3 separate regions of the Homo sapiens genome follow, and all the other regions are linked to region 1. Evidence: promoter capture Hi-C in 16 types of primary human blood cells and fetal thymus (Javierre and others, 2016). All regions are on one chromosome and are shown on one strand. The core of a region is centred on a gene start or on the middle of the fragment in contact, and the rest is flanking DNA. Distances in the headings are between cores, read along the strand shown. Region 1 holds the start of FOXP1 (forkhead box P1). Region 2 has its middle 210 kb from the start of MDFIC2. Region 3 has its middle 240 kb from the start of MDFIC2.

Region 1 (4,264 bases), core at 1,375-3,874:
AGTATTGCGATGATAATAATTTTTAATAAACACACTGCTTAATCTGAAAAACAAGATCAGAGGATGAATTGTTCTTTACAGACTATGAATAGATCTGTTACATTTAAATAAGTCGTTATTCCCCTGAGTTATAATTCTACAGTCAGGCATATACCATAAACATGTTATATTTGGCATAAAGTACTTTAGAAATTAAAAACCATTTTTAATAGGTTGACCACTACAGAACCAGTAGACTGGCTACTTTGTAGATTTCCACTTAATTCCGTGTGAATTCAGCATATGGAATTTCCAGTGATGTCAAAGAGTTGTTGGCAGTATTAACTGAGTTGACATAAAGCTTTTAGTTCAGTGCCTAGATCATAGTATTTAATAAATGTTAGATGTTATTATTGACAGCTTAGACTGTGAGCTCCTCAAGGGCAGGAATTTTTATTTTTTCATCCCTCTGTGCCCACTCTGTGGTCTAGCACACAGTGGGTATGTCATTAATCCCTTTATGTCTTGACAAACAAGACGTCGAACCCTAGCCTCTAGGAAGCTAGGACATTCCATACAAACTAAAATGCATTTTATTGGTCTAGATTCTAGTCTAAAAGATTCAGTGAATAGTCTTATCTGGATAGCATGGAACTTTATGCAGCATGCATGCAATGTGAATTCTACCAGGCTGAAATTACCTTAGCAGCCTCCCTTTCTTTTATTCTGTAGCATCAGCGAATGGCTTTGTTATTTTTTTTTTTTAACTTGCGAAAGATACAATTTCAAAGCGATAGTCTTATGCCACCCTTGAAATTAAGATTTAAGTTCTTCTGTAAATTAATGTTTAACAATATTTGTAAAGGGGCATTACGCGAAAGAATTTAATAATAACCTTTTCAGGATATTATCTACAACTGTGCTGGTCTCAAGACCAAAGGGACAGTAAGCCTCTCCCCTCCCCGCAAGGGGAAGTACTTTGTAGGAATCCACAGGGGTGACTTTTAATATATTCTCATAAAGAATTGGCCTGGTGTACACCAGCCAGCCAGTAGCTGGAAATGCTGGTTTGGGAGTCTGGCCACTTCTGTGGTGGTGGGTCTGAAAAAATTTACTTCTGTTAACAACAACAACAACAACAACAACAAGACATAGAGGTCTTACAGCTTTCCAAGTCACGTTTTGGAAACACATACTCTGCTTCCTTCTCTATGCGTATTGATAAAAGTGAAAGAAATACTAGTGTCTTTTGTTTTATGTATGTATATTTCAAAACATTTAATTCAGGCTCTTAGTTTATTCCTTCGAATTTCTAAATTCAACCAAACTTCAAAAACCGCAAAAAGAAAAAAAAAAATCTCACCTTTTCAAAGAATTGGACAAAGCTTTTTGCACGTGACTGATCACTGGGAGAGCAGGTAATTTGTGTTAAACAACGGACTGACATGCTAGCCCCCAGGCGTTTTCCTAAGAGGAGTCGTGGCAAGAACACAGTTCCTGATGCAGCCACCTTCCCCCAAAGTGGACTCGATTGCACATTCCTGCAGTGGCTCTGACAAGGGGGCAGAAGCTCGTCCCACATTCACACTCTCCTGATTCCGAGAAACAGGGGAGAAAACCCCTCGCTGGCTGGCGGGGTTTCTGTTTCCTTGCAAACAGGGGTTTGTCCTTCTGCTGAACTTTCACCTCCCGAACTCGCCTTCTTTCATTGGACAAAGTGCAGAAAGAAAGAGGAGAGACCGAGGGAGGACGGGAGAGAGGGAGAAAGGGGGTTGAAAACACCACCTCCCACCCCGCTCTCCTTCAACTGTCACTGATGGCAAAACACTTTCACTTTTAACTGGAGGAAACTCACATTCTAGCCTGTCCTCTCCCCTCCCTTTCATATTTTTAGCTCAGAATCCAAGCAAATAGCCATCGCATTCCCATCTTCGTCCCTAGTTAACACTCTCCCTTCTCGTTTTTTCCGCTGTCTGAATGGGCCCCCCATTTCCCATCTCCTGAGGAATCTCCCCCTCCGCCCCCCTGCCCCTTATTTTCCAGGTCTTTCCTGCCAGATCCCTCTGTTGCCAGGGACTGCTCTGGCGTTCCCTTCCTCTCTCTGGTCCGCGGGGCTCTGCCTCCCTCTCCTCTTTCCAATCCTGCCTGGACGCCCCTCACTTCCCCCTCCCTGGATCCCTCCCCCCAACCCCCCCCCCCATTCTTTGGCAATTGCGATTTTTTTTTTCTGGGAGCCCGGTTGTTTACCCAGCAGGTGGATGTGACGTCAGGGACGCACAACAGCAAAAAATAACAACATCTCCCTCCGCGACGTGTTGGCCTCTCTCGCGCGCCTTATTTATTTATTTGTTCCGGGATGTCGGGGGGGAGGGGGGAGGGAGGAGGGGGGTGGGCGCCAGCGCCCCGGCGAACGGCAAAGAGGGAGCCGCTCCCGCTCGGGGGGCCGCTGGAGTGCCCAGCGGGGTGCGTGAAGCGGAGAGGGGACCCCTGCGGGAGGTAGAGGGTCGGGCCGGGGTGCGCCCCCGGGCCGGTGCTGCCCGCGCCTCTGCCGCCGCCGCCGCCGCCACCGGCGCTGGCTGGGCTCCGGGAAGCTAGTCCGGAGCGGAGGAATCTATTGTTATTTATTGTGTGGCGGTTGCACGCTGTACTCGCGGCGGCCCGGCCCTCGCCCGGGAGTGCGTGTGTGCGCGCGTGTGTGCGCGAGTGAGTGTGTGCGCGGGGTGCGCGCGCGGGCGGGAGTGGGCGCGCGCGGGGAAAGGCCCGAAAACACCTTAGTTTGCACCGAGAGACCATTTGCAGCGGGTGAGTTTGTATTTTTCCATTTCTGCTCCACTTTTTCCCAAGCCGCCTCCTGTCTTGTTTCCGCCACTTTAAACAACAACAACAACCAGCACAAAAAAAAAAAAAGAAAGAAAGAAAAAGAGAAAAAAAATGGAAAAAAAAAAACAACTACTTTCCACCTCCAGGCTCCACGTGCATCTCCCCCAGCCCTCCCCTCTCTTCCTCTCCCCCCCGGGTCGAGGCCCAGCTCTGGGATGGGTGGGGGCTGCGGGCCGGCGCGCGGGTGGAGGGAGCTCCGGCGGCGCCCGCACCCTTTGGGTTTATTTGCATAAGTCAAATGGGGGCGGGGGCGGTGGCGACTGTGAGGAGGCGAGATCGCCTGCCCGTAGGCCCCTTCACGCCTCTCTCTGCGCTCTCCACGATCGCCTAGGGGAGAGAAATCAATAAGCCCAGGCCGCCTGGCGCAACTTTCGATGTCCGGCGTTGGCGTCCGGTGGCCGCCCGGGCGCGGGGCCGGTGCGGGGTCCCGGGTCCTGGCCGCGGCGGGAGGGGGCGCGCGCCGGGCGCCTCCTAGGCCCAAAGTTTAGACTTGGAGCAAACTTTTCCCCTTCTTTCCCCGCGGGTGTGTGCCCCCTCGGTGCCCTTGAGCTGCCCCGCGGGCCCCAGCAAACTGACTGTGGTGCCTGGCCCTGGGCCCCGCACTGGGGAACTTCCCCGCTGCCACGCGCGCGTTACCCCGAGAGTCAGCGGCGAGGAAGCTCTCCCGCCACCCCCTCGGAGCCCGGAAAATTCAAACACGCACCTGCGCACCCCCAGCCAGACACGCACCCCTACGCGCGCTCGGCCTCCGCTTTCCCGAGACGAGTCCGCAACAGCCGTGGCCAGATCCACGGGTGGGTGCGGGAGCCGGATGCGCTGCGAGGAGTCGCCGCGCCCGGATCTCTCTCCCACCATCACACACATTTTCTGATTTTACCCCCCTCTGAAGCTTGGGGGACGGGGAGATTTCCCAAGCTCCGATTTGTCCTGCGTCGCGCGCGTGTCGCCTCGTCCCTCCGGCCCTGTCCTGGCGGCCGATGGCTCTCCGTCCCTCGCTTGCGCGCAGCCTTCCTCCCGAGCTCCCTGCGCTCTATTCCTGTCCCGCCGAGACGACTCCCTGGAGCCAGCGAGCCGAGGCGGCGTGCGCTTCGAGTGGGGACCACGGCGGTGGCGGCGGCGCCGGGAGCCGAGGAGTTTGCCAGTTGCCGCGGGGTCGCGGTCATTTGCTGCCTCCGCCTTCCCTCGCCCCCGCCTCCCGCCTCCCTCCTTTTCAGACAACGTCGCGCTCGGAAACTTAGATTCCTTCTTCTTTTTGGCCCTCGACGAGCCCCCCTCCCCACCTGTTGTGAGCTCCGCCTTGGTCCCGGGAGACTGGCAGTGACACACACGGGCTCTGGGGAGCTCCGCTCCCGGAAACAAAGTCGCATGCCCCCCTCCCATGTGTTTGCTTCGAAATCGCTGCCTG
Region 2 (4,264 bases), core at 1,148-3,647, 1.1 Mb after region 1:
ATCTTTGTCATTTCCTAATAAGAGAAGTACTTCAAGTTGGTCACCAGAATGTTGCCTTTAGATAAGTTATTGGAACCTGACTGCACTCAACATTCCAGGAGAAATCAACCACCACCACCCACCCCCACCCCCGACTGCTTTGGGTCACCCTGATTAAAATCTTTGGCTTTTCCAATTCCAGCCACAATAAGCTGGCTGTCTATTGCCCACCAGCATTGTGGCAGGTTTTTGCAGCTTGCGCTGCATGGGACCCAAAAGGCAACTGTATATGGAACCAGTGCTCCAATCATGATTTGGTGAGAAGACTGCATTTCCCTTCATCTTTGGACATTATTCATCTTTTCATGGGAAAGACATCCCAAATGACTGAAACCATAGCTCAAGAGTTCATGGCATTTAACAAATGTTGATATTTTCTTCCCTGCTCAATTTCGATCTCTACAACCTCAGGAATGTGTGATATATATTTTCAGCTAAAATAGTAGAACTTTCCTTGGGCTACATAATCATGTTTGATGGCATACCAGCAAGAAATGGGTTTTGGTGAGGAAAGCAGCTTGCTTCTAGGCCATTCCCCAAAATCAGAAAACTGAGTGGTCAACATATGTGTTATTAATAGGCCTGTAAAATCAGCCTGAACTCTAAAAACCCGAGCCATGGCTTTGCCAGCCTCCTCCTTTGAGTGTCAGCCATTCAGTGTGCCTGTCCTCCCCTGTTGCTATGAGAGTGAGCTGAGGGGAGGTTATGGATGTGCTGTAATCAGATGGAGAGGTGGAGCCATCTGCTCTAACTTCCCAAGTTATTGTTGGCTGAGTAACTGCAGTTTTGGTTTGGGTCTTTTAACAGTTCATTTAACTGAAGAGGAGGGAGTGGATTCAGAATAGAAGGTCCTTGGTATAGGAGAATTTTCTTTATAGGTTTTCTGATTCCTCTTTCCTAACTGTCCTCTTCTAATTCCTTCTCTACTCTCAAACCCATTCTTTTGTAAATCCCCCCTTTTCTTTTTCTTTTCTTTCTTTCTTGACAAGGAATTGCTACTCCTGCATAGATAGTTACTGAGTCAGTTCTTCCCAGCACTAACTCCAAGATATTTACCACCAACTATTGCTTACTCATGATATTTAAAATGCTAGTATGTAGTGTCTTCTGGGATATTCTCGTTGCATTTCAACTGCACCCAGTGACACTGATTCTTACCAAACTATCAATACCACAGGTGTGTCCGATTAACATAGGCTTTCTAGAGGCTTTTAAAAAAGGCTGTTAAGCATTATTTGACATCTTTCTTTAATGGGTTACATTCTGGATGAGAAAAGTTTAGGTGGAATCTTTCATTTTTCAGTCCTCAAAATTTGTCTTTCCCTTAGAATTTATTCTCTATTCTTTCTCTCTCTCCTTCTCTGTTTCTCTCTGTCTCTCCCCCCCCCCTTTAAAACTATATTCTCTTTCCCCACGTAAAACCGCTTCACCTCCAGGAAAACGATGGCTATATTGAAATAAGATCACATGACTCTAACCTGCTGTAAATATTGCCTTATTTTTCAGCCATGCATCTGGATCCCTATACAAAGATATATATGTATATAACTTTATCCTGGTTTAGTGACATAACTGTACATTAATCTATCTCTCTGCTTTCCTTAATAAATTTATTTTTAAAAAATTGGCTGTTTTCACTTAAAATTTAAGTAAGCAGCAAGGGCAACAGACAAAGAAAGAGGCTTGAAATTTGAAAATGCATATTTAGATGGAAAATAAAGCTTGCTTAGCAGATATCATTCTTTGTTATTAATTTACTGTAGAAAAATGTAGGAAAAGTCAATGCTGGAAAAGAAAGTATAGTGAGAACTTCCAGGAGGAAGCGTGTATTGCCAAAAGAAAAAAAATGAGTCCTGATCCAAAAAAAAAGTCCATTATGACACAAGCCACTATTTTCTCCCTTCCAATCTTCAGCTTTTCCTCACTTAGCTAAAACACAGCCTCAAAGTCCCGCTCAGCTCTGGCACGTGGGACAGGCAAAGGCAACAGAAGGACACGAACTGGGGGGATGGAATCTCTTTGGCATTCTTGTGTTCTTTCACATCTTGACTCTCAATCATTCAATCATCTTTGGACAAAGGTCAGCACTAAATTGTCTGCTGTGTATGGTCAACAATTATTTTCTAGTAGATCTATTTATTTCATTTCTGATGAATAGTGCCTGCTGCCCCACACATGATCAAAGATAAGAATTCTGATACTTTGGCTGTATAAAGACTTACATATTAGGAATATTAGAAACACCAGACTCAAATTTGAATTCTGCCTCTGGTAGTTACCAACTGTGTGACTCAGAGGAGTTAGTAGGATTCTCTTGTCTCTAGTTTTTTGTAAAATATTAATAACAAACGGTACTCCCTTTATAAGGTTGACTGTGGGGATTAAGGGAGTTGACGACTATTAGAGTTGGAAACTCGAAGTTACTCTGAGTAAAGTGGGCTAGGTAGAAGGCAGTAAATGGCAACTGGCATGCAGTCTCTGATTTGAAGGGACTGGTGGTGTCTGTGACAAACTTGAGACTTTCTGTCCCTCTAAAGAGGCAGCTGTTCCTATTTGGCTCCAGTGAGTTTTTGCAATGGAAAAAATGTGGACCTGGTGTTGCCAGGTTTTCCGGGAAGCTGGAAATCCGGACTTTTATGTGAAACCTCACAATTTTTAGTTTTTGGCAATTAATTCAAATTTAAAGCACTGTGCAAGCCAAACAAAACACATCTGCAGGCCAAATAAGCGGAGGGAGGCACCCGTTGTGACCTCTGATGTATGTGAACATGTTTGTAACAGAACCTGCCTCAGTATAGATATTCCATAAATATTTGCCTCGTTTTTTCATTGCATGTGATATCCAACATGAGGAAAGAAAAATAATCAATTTGAGCTTCTTAGAAAATCATCAGATTTCTCACTCTTAAGGATCAGATTTATTACTTAAGTCATATATTCATATGTTTAGTCTTATCCACCGTTATGTTAAAATGCTTAACTTGGGAAAAGCTTATACTTTGGAGAATTTTATTGGGTCCTGTGACTTTGTAACAGAAGTTTTAATTTTTGTTTGAAAACATATATTGAAAATATAGTGAAGACAATTCCGAATCATCTCAACAGAAATTCACATTTATTTTTCAATTTTTTTAAAAAATAATTTTTTAACTGGCAAATAAAAATTGTTTGTATTTATGGTATACAACATGATGTTTTGAAATACTGCATTGTGGAATGGCTAAATCAAGCATATGTATTACCTTACATACTTATCTTTTTTTTTTTGTGGAGAAAACATTTAAAATCCACTCTCTTAGTAATTTTCAAGTATACAATACATTTTTATTAACTATAATCATCATGTTGTGCGATAGATCTCTTGGACTTATTCCTCCTGTCTAACTGAAATTTTCTATTTTTGGGCCAACAGCTCCCCAAACCTCCCACTCCCCAGCCTCTGATAACCACAGGAAAATTCACATTTCTGATGTTGGCCTGAGTTCCAGTAAGTGAGCAACTCTAGCCTGGATTTTTCTCTTTGTCCTCAGAGGAGCAAGACCTGGTTTTAACTGCTACATCTTCATATTGCTCACTCCTTAAGTAGTTTAACTTACTTTTTAACTGTTACATGCCAACAAAACAGGTTGCTTAATTGGTTTGACCTTTCACAGTATTTTTTAATTTTTCAATCTTAGTTTCATAGTTCCATCTGGCCCTTTAAAACGACATCTGGTTAACTGTACTTAACCAGCTGATCACTGTACAGTTATTTTTAAATGTAATGTATGCTTAAACAGATGTTATTTTTATAGATGTGGATCTAAACTGCACTTGTGTACGTGCTATGTCTGCATAAACTCTTTCTGCAATTCAAATGTTGACACCCAAAATTACAAGCCAGAATGCTTATGAACTCCACTATTATGGTACTGCACTTTTGTGCTGCTTGTAAGGTAAACATCAATTCAGTTCTTTTTTTCTTTCTTCATTGCACATAAATAAAACATTAGCATTTAGTTTATAAAGTGATGAACATTTTGCTGTGTTGGGTTTAGCTTTATAAATACAACTGCTGTCAGCAAGAAAAAAGGATTTATTGAATAAATAATAAGAAAGCTAAGGGAAAATGAAAATATATATATTATGCAAAACATGGTGTCTGTCAACAGGTCACAAAGGGGCTTCAGTGCTCTTGGTGTGGCTGTTGGAGATAATTCCATCTCTGGAGTGCTGGCCCTGAAGC
Region 3 (4,264 bases), core at 900-3,399, 1.0 Mb after region 1:
TTCAATAATCTAGCCTGAGTTTCTTTGCCTTACAAGTGGAAGCATTCCAAATGGACAAGCCCTAATGTGCGAGCATTTGTCAAATCTCTGCTGTATCACACTTGCTAATGTCCCATTGCCCAACAGGAGCCCAGAGACAAGGTGGGAGGGGACTACACAAGAGGGTGCATAACAAATGTGGTTCATCGGGAGTAACCAGCATGACATCCGACCATAACATGGGATGTCATATAGCTGTTATATCACAGAACAAGATTAGAACTTAGGCCTCCTTAATGTGGTTTTCTTCCCATCAGACCAAGCTGACTCTCCAATGTCACATTTATTCTTCCTTTAGTAACATTAAGATGGCTCATTATTTTAACACTGGTCAAAGTGTAGGCCATAGTAGAGGACAGTTACTACTGCATATTGCTCTTTAAAATACCAGTTAAATTTACTGCCCAGGTTTAAATTCTGGTCATTTTTACCTAAGAAGGAAATCTGAGTCAATCATCTTTGTTAGTTTTGAAAAACCTTTATTTTCAACAATATGAAACCTTACAAAGACCCAAGACTGATTTTGCTATCATCTTACATTATAGGTGCAACATTTGGAGGAAGAACTATGTTTCTTATGTTTCTACATTAAGTAGTTGAGGAAACTGTGACTCAGAAATGCTGAATTCCTTCTCAGGAGCTCATGGTGCATGATAAAGCCTGGCTTCTTACTTCAGAAGATTCTTGCTCTGGAGGAACTCATGGTCTTAGGAACATATTTGCATACAGCCTTCTACAGCAGCTTAACTTAGATCTTCTCCACCTCGTGATTGTTTATAGCACACATTGATGATGTTCTATATTTTGGCATTTGAGGAATTTCATTTTTCACAATTTAGCACAAAGGATACCCCAAATCAGCACTTCTCTAGCTTCCTGAACTCAGAATCCCTTTATGTTCCTAAAAATTATTAAGAACCCCAAAGAATTTCTGTTATATGAATTATACTAATCAATACGTACCATGCTAGAAATTAAAGCTGAGAGGTTTTTTTTTTAAATCACAAGAACGCAAAGCATACATTCCATTAGCTGTCAGAATGATGACATCAACACACGTCATATTACCATTGTACTCCACTGTACTCTCAGGAGGCAGTAAGAGTGAAAAATGCAAATCAAATCTTTTTATTATTGTGAATATAACTTTGACCTAGCAAACCCTAGAAAAGGCCTCAGAGACACTCAAAGCTGCTAGACCACATTTTAAGAGGTGTCTTCTAAACAATTTTCCCCCTGAAAAATAATACATAATGCTGGATGAAAATTTTAAAGATCTGTTTTGAATTCACGGCTAAGCTGATAAGAAATTAAGCGCTACTTTTAGAGAAAGAAACTGGAGTGAAAGCACAAACCCAGAGAGGTAAGGCAAAGTAAGGGAGGCTTGGGGACGGCTGTTCATTCTTTGCATGTGACCAACAGATTTTACTTTATCAGATGTGTAGAGAAGAGGGGTCAAGAGATTAGAGCTGGCACACAGAGGTTAATTTGATAGAAGACGACTTCACTAGGCTCTTAGCATTAGGCCGAGACCTCAAAGGATAATACTGTAACTCAGTGAAAGGGTGAATGAGGGAGAAAGCCTGGCTCATAGAAAAAGATATGAGAAAATTTCTTTCAATATTGGTTTTGAATGGAAGGGGGAAAAAATTCCTCTATAGGCTCATAACCACAGGCTTGGCCTTATGAATTTTAGCCTATTCTCCCAAGCTGGGGGCGCTTCCAGGCACCTGATAAATACAAATGCAAATCCTACCTGGGGGAATGTACCTGTAACTCAGACTTCAAAGAATTCCCACACTTAAGTGTTATTAAAAATAAGCTCATGATTTTAAAAGAAATCATGAAATAAATAAGGAAACAAATTGCTGAGTCAAATGGATGAAGACCAGAACTTTAAAGAGTATGGATAAGAATGTTTAACATGATTATAAAAATAAGAGATGGTTTGAAAATATGTCTAAGGAATAGGCAGATTTGAAAGGAATAAAACAGAATTTTCAAATAAAATAATCAAATAGATCTTTCAGAAATTGTAATACTTGAAGTTAAATAGTATAAGAGAATATGGATTTGTTGGAATTCTCACATACTGAGAGGACTGCAAATTGGTAAAACCACTTTGGAAAACTGTTTGGCAGCATTCACTAAAGCTGAAAAACATGTACCCTATGACAAAGCAAATTCTTTAGGTATAAACCCAATAAAAATGCTCAACATATGCTCACCAAAATAAATGTGCAAGAAACTTTATAGCAGCACTATTTATAATGGTTATAAATGTGTGTTCATTTTATGAAAATTCATCTAGTTATAAATTTAAGATTTCTGCATTTTACCAATCATGCCTTTCACCATGGTGGGTTCACCATGGAAACCCACCTCTTGCATCAGCATGACTGGGATGTGAGACATGGAGTCGAAGGAGATCATTTTGGAGCTTTAAGATTTGACTGTCCTGCTGGATTTCAGACTTACATGGGGCCTGTAGCCCCTTTGTTTTGGCCAATATCTCCCATTTGGAATGGCTGCATTTACCCAATGGCTGTACCCCTATTTTATCTAGGAAGTAAATAACTTGCTTTTGATTTTACAGGCTCATAGGTGGAACAGATTCATCTTGTCTCAAATGAGACATTGGACTGTGAATTTTTGAGTTAATGCTGAAATGAGTTAAGACTTTGGGGGACTGTTGGGAAGGCATGATTGGTTTTGAAATGTCTGTTTGATATGGTTTGGCTCTGTGTCCCCACCCAAATCTCATCTTGTGGCTCCCATAATTCCCATGTATTGTGGGAGGGACCCAATGGGAGATACCTGAATCATGGGGACGGGTCTTTCCTGTGCTGTTCTTGTGGTAGTGAATAAGTCTCACAAGATCTGATGGTTTTAAAAAGGGGATTTTCCCTGCACAAACGGTGCTCTTCTCTTGCCTGCCACCATGTGAGACATGCCTTTCACCTTCCGCCATGATTGTGAGGCCTCCCCAGCCACATGGAACCATAGTCTGATAAATTTCTTTCTTTTGTAAATTGCCCAGTCTTGGGTATGTCTTTATTAGCAGTGTGAAAATGGACTAATGCAGTAAATTGGTACTGGTAGAGTAGAGCGTTGCTAAAAAGACACCCAAAAATGTGGAAGTGACTTTGTAACTGTGTAACAGGCAGAGGTTGGAACAGTTTGAGGGGCTCAGAAGGAGACAGGAAAAAGTGGGAAAGTTTGGAACTTCCTAGAGACTTGTTGAATGGCTTTGACAAAAATGCTGATAGTGATATGAACAATAAGGTCCAGGCTGAGGAGGTCTCAGATGGAGATGAGGAACTTGTTGGGAACTGAAGCAAAGATAACTCTTGTTATGTTTTAGCAAAGAGACTGGTGGCATTTTGCCCCTGCCGTAGAGATTTGTGGAACTTTGAACTTGCAAGAGATAATTTAGGGCGTCTGGTAGAAGAAATTTCTAAGCAGCAAAGCATTCAATAGGTGACTTGGGTGTTTTAAAAGCTATTCAGTTTTAAAAGGGAAGCAGAGCATAAAAGTTTGGAAAATTTGCAGCCTGTCAATGCAAAAGAAAAGAAAATCCCATTTTCTGAGGAAAAATTCAAGCTGGCTGCAGAAATTTGCATAAGTAACAAGTTGAGGAATGTTAATCACCAAGACAATGGGGAAGATGTCTCCAGGGCATGTCAGAGACCTTTGCAGCAGCCCCCATCACAGGTCTGGAGGCCTAGGAGGATAAAGTGGTTTCATGGGTCGGGCCCAGGTTCCCCGGGATGTGTACAGCCTAGGGACTTGGTGCCCTGCATCCCAGCCACTCCAGCTGTGGTTGAAAGGGACCAACATAGAGCTCGGGACATGGCTTCACAGGGTGCAAGCCTCAAGTCTTGGCAGCTTTTACATGGTGTTGAGCCTGAGAGTGCACAGAAGTCAAGAATTGAAGTTTGAGAATCTCCACCTAGATTTCATAAGATGTATGGAAACATCTGGGTGCCCAGGCAGAAATTTTCTGTAGGGCTGGGGTCCTCATGGAGAACCTGTTCTAGGGCAGCGCAGAAGGGAAACGTGAGGTTGGAGCCCTGCACAAAGATCCTACTGGGGCGCCACCTAGTGGAGCTGTGGGAAGAGGGCCACCGTCCTCCAGATACCAGAATAGTAGATCCACCAAGAGCTTGCACCATGCACCTGGAAAAGCTGCTGACACTCAACGCCAGCTCATGAAGGCAGCTGG

What was found. Contacts are between HindIII fragments. The CHiCAGO score rates a contact against its expected background, and 5 or more counts as called.
Region 2: a contact is called between a fragment that was not itself captured here and the fragment with the promoter of FOXP1 in region 1, in 1 of 17 cell types (naive CD4 T cells). The highest score is 5.0, in naive CD4 T cells.
Region 3: a contact is called between a fragment that was not itself captured here and the fragment with the promoter of FOXP1 in region 1, in 10 of 17 cell types (naive CD8 T cells, activated CD4 T cells, naive CD4 T cells and 7 more). The highest score is 18.5, in naive CD8 T cells.

Annotation. Positions count from the first base shown.
Region 1 is chr3:71,582,088-71,586,351 of GRCh38, reverse strand. It overlaps FOXP1 (forkhead box P1), which reads left to right and starts at 2,624. Exons shown (of 21, transcript NM_001349338.3): 1 at 2,624-2,781. It overlaps FOXP1-DT (FOXP1 divergent transcript), which reads right to left and starts at 1,409. Exons shown (of 1, transcript NR_182289.1): 1 at 1-1,409. RefSeq lists an enhancer at 2,140-2,434 and a silencer at 2,512-2,751. The HindIII fragment of the contact is 2,384 bases long and covers 1,367-3,750 here.
Region 2 is chr3:70,516,938-70,521,201 of GRCh38, reverse strand. No RefSeq gene overlaps it. Among named protein-coding and RNA genes, the nearest start is that of MDFIC2, 210 kb to the right of the region's middle. The HindIII fragment of the contact is 1,270 bases long and covers 1,763-3,032 here.
Region 3 is chr3:70,550,806-70,555,069 of GRCh38, reverse strand. No RefSeq gene overlaps it. Among named protein-coding and RNA genes, the nearest start is that of MDFIC2, 240 kb to the right of the region's middle. The HindIII fragment of the contact is 6,674 bases long and covers 1-4,264 here.